Regions from separate parts of the Homo sapiens genome. Here all the other regions are linked to region 1. Evidence: promoter capture Hi-C in 16 types of primary human blood cells and fetal thymus (Javierre and others, 2016). All regions are on one chromosome and are shown on one strand. Each heading gives the region's core, a stretch centred on a gene start or on the middle of the fragment in contact. The rest is flanking DNA. Distances are from core to core; before and after follow the strand shown.

Region 1 (3,299 bases), core at 14-2,513:
ACACGGTGGCTCACGCCTGTAATCCCAACACTTTGGGAGGCCGAGGCGGGCAGATCACAAGGTCAGGAGATCGAGACCATCCTGGCTAACATGGTGAAACCCTGTCTCTACTAAAAATACAAAAAATTAGCCGGGCGTGGCGGCAGGTGCCTGTAGTCCCAGCTGCTGGGGAGGCTGAGGCAGGAGAATGGTGTGAACCCGGGAGGCGGAACTTGCAGGGGGCCGAGATCGTGCCACTGCACTCCAGCCTGGGCGACAGAGTGAGACTCTGTCTCAAAAAAAAAAAAAAAGTGTTATGATGCAGACCTGTCAAAGAGGCAAAGGAGGGTGTTCCTACACTCCAGGCACTGTTCATAACCTGGACTCTCATTCATTCTACAAATGGAGGGCTCCCCTGGGCAGTACCCTGGAGCAGGCACTTTGCTGGTGTCTCGGTTAAAGAGAAACTGATAACTCTTGGTTGGTATTACCAAGAGATAGAGTCTCAGATGGATATTCTTACAGAAACAATATTCCACTTTTCAGAGTTCACCAAAAAATCATTTTAGGCAGAGCTCATCTGGCATTGATCTGGTTCATCCATGAGATTGGCTAGGGTAACAGCACCTGGTCTTGCAGGGTTGTGTGAGCTTATCTCCAGGGTTGCCCCAACTCCGTCAGGAGCCTGAACCCTGCATACCGTATGTTCTCTGCCCCAGCCAAGAAAGGTCAATTTTCTCCTCAGAGGCTCCTGCAATTGACAGAGAGCTCCTGAGGCAGAGAACAGCACCCAAGGTAGAGACCCACACCCTCAATACAGACAGGGAGGGCTATTGGCCCTTCATTGTACCCATTTATCCATCTGTAAGTGGGAAGATTCCTAAACTTAAGTACAAAGAAGTGAATGAAGAAAAGTATGTGCATGTATAAATCTGTGTGTCTTCCACTTTGTCCCACATATACTAAATTTAAACATTCTTCTAACGTGGGAAAATCCAGTATTTTAATGTGGACATCAACTGCACAACGATTGTCAGGAAAACAATGCATATTTGCATGGTGATACATTTGCAAAATGTGTCATAGTTTGCTACTCCTTGCCCTTCCATGAACCAGAGAATTATCTCAGTTTATTAGTCCCCTCCCCTAAGAAGCTTCCACCAATACTCTTTTCCCCTTTCCTTTAACTTGATTGTGAAATCAGGTATTCAACAGAGAAATTTCTCAGCCTCCTACTTCTGCTTTTGAAAGCCATAAAAACAGCGAGGGAGAAACTGGCAGATACCAAACCTCTTCGAGGCACAAGGCACAACAGGCTGCTCTGGGATTCTCTTCAGCCAATCTTCATTGCTCAAGTATGACTTTAATCTTCCTTACAACTAGGTGCTAAGGGAGTCTCTCTGTCTCTCTGCCTCTTTGTGTGTATGCATATTCTCTCTCTCTCTCTCTTTCTTTCTCTGTCTCTCCCTCTCCTTCCCTCTCTGCCTCCCTCTCTCAGCTTTTTGCAAAAATGCCAGGTGTAATATAATGCTTATGACTCGGGAAATATTCTGGGAATGGATACTGCTTATCTAACAGCTGACACCCTAAAGGTTAGTGTCAAAGCCTCTGCTCCAGCTCTCCTAGCCAATACATTGCTAGTTGGGGTTTGGTTTAGCAAATGCTTTTCTCTAGACCCAAAGGACTTCTCTTTCACACATTCATTCATTTACTCAGAGATCATTTCTTTGCATGACTGCCATGCACTGGATGCTGAGAGAAATCACACATGAACGTAGCCGTCATGGGGAAGTCACTCATTTTCTCCTTTTTACACAGGTGTCTGAAGCAGCCATGGCAGAAGTACCTGAGCTCGCCAGTGAAATGATGGCTTATTACAGGTCAGTGGAGACGCTGAGACCAGTAACATGAGCAGGTCTCCTCTTTCAAGAGTAGAGTGTTATCTGTGCTTGGAGACCAGATTTTTCCCCTAAATTGCCTCTTTCAGTGGCAAACAGGGTGCCAAGTAAATCTGATTTAAAGACTACTTTCCCATTACAAGTCCCTCCAGCCTTGGGACCTGGAGGCTATCCAGATGTGTTGTTGCAAGGGCTTCCTGCAGAGGCAAATGGGGAGAAAAGACTCCAAGCCCACAATACAAGGAATCCCTTTGCAAAGTGTGGCTTGGAGGGAGAGGGAGAGCTCAGATTTTAGCTGACTCTGCTGGGCTAGAGGTTAGGCCTCAAGATCCAACAGGGAGCACCCAGGGTGCCCACCTGCCAGGCCTAGAATCTGCCTTCTGGACTGTTCTGCGCATATCACTGTGAAACTTGCCAGGTGTTTCAGGCAGCTTTGAGAGGCAGGCTGTTTGCAGTTTCTTATGAACAGTCAAGTCTTGTACACAGGGAAGGAAAAATAAACCTGTTTAGAAGACATAATTGAGACATGTCCCTGTTTTTATTACAGTGGCAATGAGGATGACTTGTTCTTTGAAGCTGATGGCCCTAAACAGATGAAGGTAAGACTATGGGTTTAACTCCCAACCCAAGGAAGGGCTCTAACACAGGGAAAGCTCAAAGAAGGGAGTTCTGGGCCACTTTGATGCCATGGTATTTTGTTTTAGAAAGACTTTAACCTCTTCCAGTGAGACACAGGCTGCACCACTTGCTGACCTGGCCACTTGGTCATCATATCACCACAGTCACTCACTAACGTTGGTGGTGGTGGCCACACTTGGTGGTGACAGGGGAGGAGTAGTGATAATGTTTCCCATTTCATAGTAGGAAGACAACCAAGTCTTCAACATAAATTTGATTATCCTTTTAAGAGATGGATTCAGCCTATGCCAATCACTTGAGTTAAACTCTGAAACCAAGAGATGATCTTGAGAACTAACATATGTCTACCCCTTTTGAGTAGAATAGTTTTTTGCTACCTGGGGTGAAGCTTATAACAACAAGACATAGATGATATAAACAAAAAGATGAATTGAGACTTGAAAGAAAACCATTCACTTGCTGTTTGACCTTGACAAGTCATTTTACCCGCTTTGGACCTCATCTGAAAAATAAAGGGCTGAGCTGGATGATCTCTGAGATTCCAGCATCCTGCAACCTCCAGTTCTGAAATATTTTCAGTTGTAGCTAAGGGCATTTGGGCAGCAAATGGTCATTTTTCAGACTCATCCTTACAAAGAGCCATGTTATATTCCTGCTGTCCCTTCTGTTTTATATGATGCTCAGTAGCCTTCCTAGGTGGCCCAGCCATCAGCCTAGCTAGGTCAGTTGTGCAGGTTGGGAGGCAGCCACTTTTCTCTGGCTTTATTTTATTCCAGTTTGTGA
Region 2 (3,571 bases), core at 189-2,688, 280 kb before region 1:
AGGGCCTCATAGGACAGGAGGTCTTCTGAGGTCTTCCAGACTCTAACTCAACTGAGCTGCTGCCCATAAAGTAGCACCCGGGCAGTACCTGGGCCACAGTCCCTCCCAGGGTGGAGCTGCCCCTCCTTCCAGAGCACCTCAGAGAGTACAAGGAGGAGCCCAGCCTCCCCTCCCACACACTCACAGAGGGTTGGCCAGCATGAGGAGATGGGCCGGCTGATGGCTGACTTGATGCCAAGCAGGCCCAGTTTCCAGGAGGGTGACTCAGGCTAGCAGAAACCAAACTGGTTCTTATCTGCGTAAGATGGGAGGTCACATGCAGAGAACTGAGCTGGGCCTTCGTGCTTACCCCAACCCCGACTGCCGCCAGCTCATGCATGTGTGCACACATTCATTCAAAACATATGTGTTGGCTTAATCCTGTGTGCCAGGCACTCTTCCAGGCATTGGGAACAAGCCAGACAAGGTCCCCAACGCTCTAACAAAGGAAAACAGACAAGAAACAAGTTAGCAAATAAAATAACTTCATAGGGCATATTGCTATAGGGAAAATCCAAAGCAGGATATGCTTTTGAGGGACCTAGGAGTGGGTGGCTATTTTAGGGAAAGTGGCCAGGGAAGCCCTCTCTGAGAGGGTGACATAAGAGTGGAGACCTGAGCAATGTCAAGGAAGGGGAAGAATATTCCAGGTGGAGGGAACAGCAAGGGCAAAGGCCTTGTTTGAGCACTACGTGGAAGCCATGTCTTAGGGAATAACAGGGTCCATCCCGCTTCCAGTTACCCCCATGCCCTATACCTGGCCTCTGCCGTGACATTGTCCACAAGGCCAGATACTCTCTCCCTGCTTTCTCTAGAAGCACCTGATGTTCTGAACACCCCTCCTCCTTTTTGCCGTTGGGAGCGAACCTGCTTGTAGCTTCATGTCTCTGCATTCTGCCATCAGGGAGCAGACAACTCACAAATGCTTAAAGCCATCCAAGTTGATGGGGAGCAGTGGCAAGAGACCCCTGGGCAGGACGAAGTCCCGGGTCTAGTCCCCAGGTCTGCAGCCAACCAGTTGTGTGTGTGTGGGCACACCACTTCTGCCCTTCAGACCTCATTTTGACAGCTGCAAAATGGACCTGATGCTATCTGCCCTATCTTAGACTTAGGGCTCACCGGAAGCATGAATGACACGCAGTACATAAAATGCTCTGTAAATCACATGCATTTACACAGGCCCTTGCTGCAGGTAATGCCTTCATACACATATGAAATAGAGAGGAAGGAGCAGACCAGCCTACTGGCTGCCACCAATCTTGCCACCTACAATCTGTCCCTCCTGACAGGGAAGAACCCTCTCATTTGCAGAAGGGCTCATAATTCATAAACTTCTCAACAGGGATCTGGTAAGGGCCTTCAATTTCCTCTAACCCTGCAGACCTGGACTCATTCCCAGGGTCTCTTCATTCAACTCACAGGGCCTGAATGGGGGTGGGAGGGGCAGGGAGCCGGCCACAGGAAAGCCCCCCACCCCCCGCCCCGCCTGGGTGCTCCCGACCGCAGGGACTTCCCATGGGGCCTTCACTTCCTGTTCTCTTCCGCCTTGGCTCACCAAGATGTAATGCCAAGGTGTGTAAGGTTTGGCTGGAAATTTTCGAAGCAGCTTTTGTAGAGAAATTCCTGCTGACTAAAGAATCAGAAACTAGATTTGTAAACCTGGAAACTTCGTAAATGTCAACTTTGTAAACCTAGAAAGTTGGGCATTGGGGCAGCCTGGGAACCTGCCAGGATAGCCTGATGTGTCATCATGGTGTTGTACTTTTCTGTTATGACAACAGGAGGAGGACACATTAAGGTGGGCTCTGGTGGCCAGAGGTTCAAATCCCAGCACCATGAACTATAGCTGTGGGATCCTGGGCCACATCTATAAAATGAGAGTAAGATAAGACTCTTGCCCACCTCACAAGGTGCTTGTGAAGACTGGGCTAACAACTGTAAAGTGCTTGGCATGTGGTTGGCATTATTTAAGTATTAGCCATTACTATCAGAGGAAATAGATTGGATTTCTTCCCTGGGGAGCTAGGGGCCTAGCTGGTCATGAGAGAGAAAACTAGGCTTCCAGTCAGGGCCAGGGGACTACAAGTCAATCAGCACACAAGGCTGGGCATTCCCAGGTGGTCCCAACACTGGGGACATCGAGGGTAAAGGGACAACTTACGGGCATCTGTAGCACCCCAGTGTCTAGTCAGAACTCTCCTTTGCAAGCCTGTCTCCCTCTCCTCTCAGGCTATGAAGTTCTGATGGATCAGTGGCTTAGCCTAGGGTACTCAGTGCATCTGAGAAGCCTGGAGCCCAACATCCCAGAGATGGAGAACGCTGGGAGTAGTGGGAGAGCTGGCATTTGGGAACCGTGGAATTCTGAGTGACTGGAGACTCTTGATCATGGTGAAGGGGCTTCTGAAGAACCCTGAGGATCCACAACCCCAATGATGGTGACTGGCCACTTGCTCTGGCACTAACCTGCCAGCCTGTGGCATAGGAAAGAAGGAGGTAGGGGAAGGGTAGAAGGAAAGGGAGGCATCAGGAATGGAGGAGCAAGATATTGAGGTTTAATGTTATTAGAACCCCTCCCTTGAATTGAGACAGTCACAGGTGAAGCCCTCTAGCAGGAGAGACCCCAAGGCTCCCAAAGGAATTCCTACTATGGGAATGGAAATCTAGACCACACACAAGCAGGGGGGCCCTGGATGCCGTGAGAAGACTGAGAGCTTGGGTGAATCCCTTCATTCCAGCCAGGGGAGAGGTGCATCCTGCTTCCTTCTAGCTTAGACACACAAGGTCAGAGCAAGGGATTTGAGGTTTGAAAATACATGGGATCAGTTTTACAATTCTGATGACTGTAAATCCTTGAGTTGTTTGCCAACTTGTTTATCTACGACCGTAGTTGTTTACGGTCATAGACAAGCCCTTAAGTTTTTGCAGAGTTCCTAAGAATCTGCTCAGCCTGCTCAGCTTCCAGACTCAGCTTGTGAAACAGCCCCTCTTGTTCCCTGAACTCCTTTTGGTTCCTCAAATTCACCTCTTTCTCTCACCTCAGGACCTTGACACAGGCATGGAACACCCTTCCCTCCCCTGCTCCACTGACTAGTTACTTATCCTCACCCTTAAGACCTCAGCTCAGACTCTGCATTTATGTGATCCTCCGTGTAATATCTGTCTCCCAGGGCAGGTCACAGCAAGCACCGTGTCTATTTTGTTTACTCTTATATCTCCAGCTCATAGCCCAGGATTTGGCCCATAGAAAAATAAATGGGAAACCACCACTCATATTCTCATTCTCTCTCTCTCTCTCACACACACACACAAACACAGACACACACACACTCACACACGGACTCATACATCACCATAAATAAATGAGACACCTGATCATAACTTTGTAAGTGGTCACACATTGAAACTTCCAAGTCACATCAAATGTGGTCAAGATATATAGACTCTTCTTAACCTGTAATCCATTTTTCTGGGAGCTACCTCCATCGCCACCACCACAACTCACAGACCCAGCTGATTACACATGTACCTGACC
Region 3 (3,619 bases), core at 561-3,060, 300 kb before region 1:
GTCCTTGTCCCACACCCAGATCAAGTGAATCAGAACCTCTGGATGGAGGAGGTAGGCCACTTTTGGTAAAAAGCTCCTGCAGGTCAGCCTGATGAAGACACATATCTAGTTCAATTCCCTCCTTTTATGAAAACTGAGGCCTAGGGAGGAGAGGTTGCTTGGCCAAGGGCCCCCCAGGGAGTCTGTAGGAAAACTCTGACTCACCAATGAAAGACCTGAATTCAGCCTTGAATTTTCAAACAGTTGTCCTTGATTCTGTAGTGTTGTAGTAGATCAGGCCCAGAAGTGACGGAAGAAGCCACAATCCTCTTGAGGCTTGCTTGTCTTCCCTCTCTGTGCTTTTCTCTCCCATCTCAGCCCCTCCACCTCCCAGTCACCTGTGCACCGCCTCCCAGTTGAACAAAAGCCTCACTTAAGCATGAACCCCAGGCCTGGCTTTCCTAATCCATGGCCCCTGCCTTGTGCTATATAAAGTGCTGGCCCCTTGATTATTAATTTCCTCACCGCAGGCTGAGACCAGACCTGGAATACCCCACCAAGCCAAACTCAAATGTTTGCACATCCACTTGCTTTAAACATAGCCCCAATAAGCCTATGGTAATCCATTTAGAACCTGCCTGCTCTGTATACTCCATGAAACTGTATCCAATATCTGCTGGCCAAGGATAAGCCCCAAGCCATAAAGGCCTCAAGCCACTGCAGCCCATAGGAGCTCTCTGACCCAGAGATTCCCTGCTGTGCTGCTGGGTGACTTCACCTGGCCATGTAAGCCCCCTTTCCAATTCTCTTCTTTCCTAGGAGTCCTCTTGCCCTCCTTCCCCTCTGAGTAGGACCCCATCTCCACACTATAGCCTCCTTGACCAATTCCTGCTATAAAGGACCTTCCCCAGTGTAAACCTGTTAAAGCATCAACCCGAAAGCCTATGTGTGCTACCGCCACCTCGTGGTCATATCTTTTTTCTTAACCTCCAAATATCTGAAAAATCCTTCACTCTGGGCCTTTTCCCTCTTCTAAGCTTCCTTCAAAATATTCCTGATCCAAGTCCCCAGTCTTCTCAAATTTGCTGACCTGTCGAATAAATTAATCCATATTGATATATCAGTGGCCAATTCATTTATTCACTGGCCAGATATTCACTTAGCACCCAGTATATCGCAAGCAATGGCCTTGGCACTTGAGATACACTGTAGAACAAAACAGACAAAAATATCTGCATGGGTTGAGCTGACATTCTAGCAGCACGATGATGATTTAAAGTTTTTCCTCTTAGGAATATTTTATGGAACACTTTAAACCAAAGTAAGGAAGTGTTTTGTTTTTTTGTTTGTTTGAGACAGGGTCTCACTATCACCCAGGCTGGGATGCAGTGGCATGATCTCAGCTCACCGCAACTGTCACCTTCCAGGTTTGAGTGATTCTCATGCCTCAGCCTCCCAAGTAGCTGGGATTACAGGCATGTACCACCATGCCTGGCTAATTTTTTGGCATTTTCAGTAGAGACAGGGTTTTGCCATGTTGGTCAGGCTGGTCTTGAACTCCTGGCCTCAAGTGCTCTGCCCACCTCAGCCTCCCAAAGTGCTGGGATTACAGGCGTGAACCACCATGCCCAGCTAAAGTGTTAAGAGGGGAGTTTTTGGTGTCATCAATGGGCTAGTGTGATAGAGAGTAAGGAGATGGGCTAGGTTTATAAGTAGGAGAATCCCTTTATGCTAGTGCGTATGCCAAAACTTATGCATTGTGCGATTTATGCTTTTTATTTTATCTTATTTCTTTCTTTATTTTGAGACAGAGTTTTGCTCTTGTTGCCCAGGTTGGAGTGCAATGGTGTGATCTCGGCTCACTGCAACCTCCACCTCCCAGGTTCAAGTGATTCTCCTGCCTCAGCCTCCTGAGTAGCTAGGATTACAGGTATGCGCCACCATGCCCAGCTAATTTTATATTTTTAATAGAGATGAGGTTTCACCATGTTGGTCAGGCTGATCTCGAACTCCTGACCTCATGTGATCCACCTGCCTCGGCCTCCCAAAGTGCTGAGATTACAAGCATGAACTACTGCACCCGGCTAATGCATTTTAAAACAGTGCTTCTCAAATTTAATGTGCATGGGAGATCTGGTTAAGATGATGACCCTAAGTCAGTAAGTCAAGCCTGAGATCTGAGAATCTGCATTTTAACTCCAGAAGTATGCTGATGTTGCTGATGCATGAACCACACTTGGAGCAATAAGGCTCTAAAGCAGATTCCTTTGAGCACTGACTCTTCTAGGACTAATAATAATAATAAGAATATGCCACTCACCACAGAAGGCTATTGCAAAGATTAAGTAACTTTGCAATAACTCAGCATTGCCTATTATTTGCATTTAGTGGTGGGAAAACCAAGGCTCTGAGGTGTTAACTAGCTTGCTTATGAGCACCCAGTGCAAGCAGGAGAGTCAGAGTGTGACTGCAGAGTCCCAGAGTTCACCCATGTGACTGTTTTGCTGCCTTGCCTGTTTCTAACCTGTAGCTTGCTGCTTGACCTAGTTTGCATGAAGAGTCTTAGCCTTGGGTTTTACCTTAGAGCCTCACAAATGTTAGCTGCTATTGTTGTCATTAAGCTTTGATGAGTTTTCTGCCTTGAACCTCCTCCTTTTACCAGGATTAAAAATATATCAACGACACATGCCCTGCCCTGCCAGCTACTTCCATTTTATATACAAGAAAGAGAAAACTCAGAGATGTTGGATGACCTCCTCAACGTCATAGGATCTTAGATCTAGAGAAGACCTTAAACATTTTCTCCAGTTTGTTGCCTTTTAGCCTATTTAGTTTAGTTTGCTTTTAGCAATGAAGTCTCCCTTTCAAACAAAGTCCCATGGGAGGTCCAAGTTGTAAAGAAGAGAAAAACAGAGGGCTCTGTTGGGAACAGGGTTCAAGGGATGAATCCTGGCCCATTTATCCTCCCCTCTGCAGGGTTTCCCATTTCCAGAGACCTTAGAGGGAAGGGTCCAAGGAGCTCTGTTTGGAAAATCCCCATCCAAATCAACATTCCCCTCAAACAAATGAGGAACAGTCCCCACAAAGGGAGGTGACTTGGCCAAAATCAGACAGCAAGTGCATGACCTCACTGGGGCCTGCCTCTTGGACTCCAGAGACCAAGCCCAGAATCTAACAGAAACAACCTGGGCAGGTGAAAGGACCACACTCCTCACTCTCCTGACTGTTTACTGAGGTGTGTTTGATAAGTGGTCACTCATGGTCTTGCACTCCCACCTATGGGGACAAATTCAATACTCCATTCACTAATCTCATAATTTCCCAGATGCTCCTTTCTTTACACCCTGGTTGTTGGGGGGCAAGTCTTTTTATTTTCTAGGTATTGTGAAATAAAATATACATACAGAAAACCGCCTAACTGCATCCATGCCAAGAAATAGAATGTTGTCTGGACCCTAAAATCCCCCAGGTGCTCCTGCCTGCCACTCTCTCTCGCAGGGGCCAAGTGTCACTGGGCCTTCAGACAGAGCATGGCCTTGCTTCTCTCTGCACCACCTGTTTCCACAGCCCTCCACACAACAGCCCCATGTTGCCCGTTTTGAACTTTGTAGAAATGGAATCACACTCTATGCATGCTTTT

Evidence for each region. The method cuts DNA at HindIII sites, captures the fragments that hold promoters and counts their contacts. A CHiCAGO score of 5 or more calls a contact.
Region 2: a fragment that was not itself captured here is called in contact with the fragment with the promoter of IL1B in region 1 in 1 of 17 cell types (M1 macrophages); the score reaches 5.1 in M1 macrophages.
Region 3: a fragment that was not itself captured here is called in contact with the fragment with the promoter of IL1B in region 1 in 1 of 17 cell types (M1 macrophages); the score reaches 5.8 in M1 macrophages.

Annotation. Positions count from the first base shown.
Region 1 is chr2:112,834,743-112,838,041 of GRCh38, reverse strand. IL1B (interleukin 1 beta) reads left to right here and starts at 1,263. Exons shown (of 7, transcript NM_000576.3): 1 at 1,263-1,334; 2 at 1,798-1,859; 3 at 2,425-2,476. The coding sequence starts at 1,813. The HindIII fragment of the contact is 1,771 bases long and covers 1,136-2,906 here.
Region 2 is chr2:113,114,444-113,118,014 of GRCh38, reverse strand. It overlaps a transcript of IL1RN not described here. Among named protein-coding and RNA genes, the nearest start is that of IL1RN, 11 kb to the left of the region's middle. The HindIII fragment of the contact is 6,409 bases long and covers 1-3,571 here.
Region 3 is chr2:113,134,385-113,138,003 of GRCh38, reverse strand. No RefSeq gene overlaps it. Among named protein-coding and RNA genes, the nearest start is that of IL1RN, 8.6 kb to the right of the region's middle. RefSeq lists a silencer at 2,388-2,537. The HindIII fragment of the contact is 1,584 bases long and covers 1,019-2,602 here.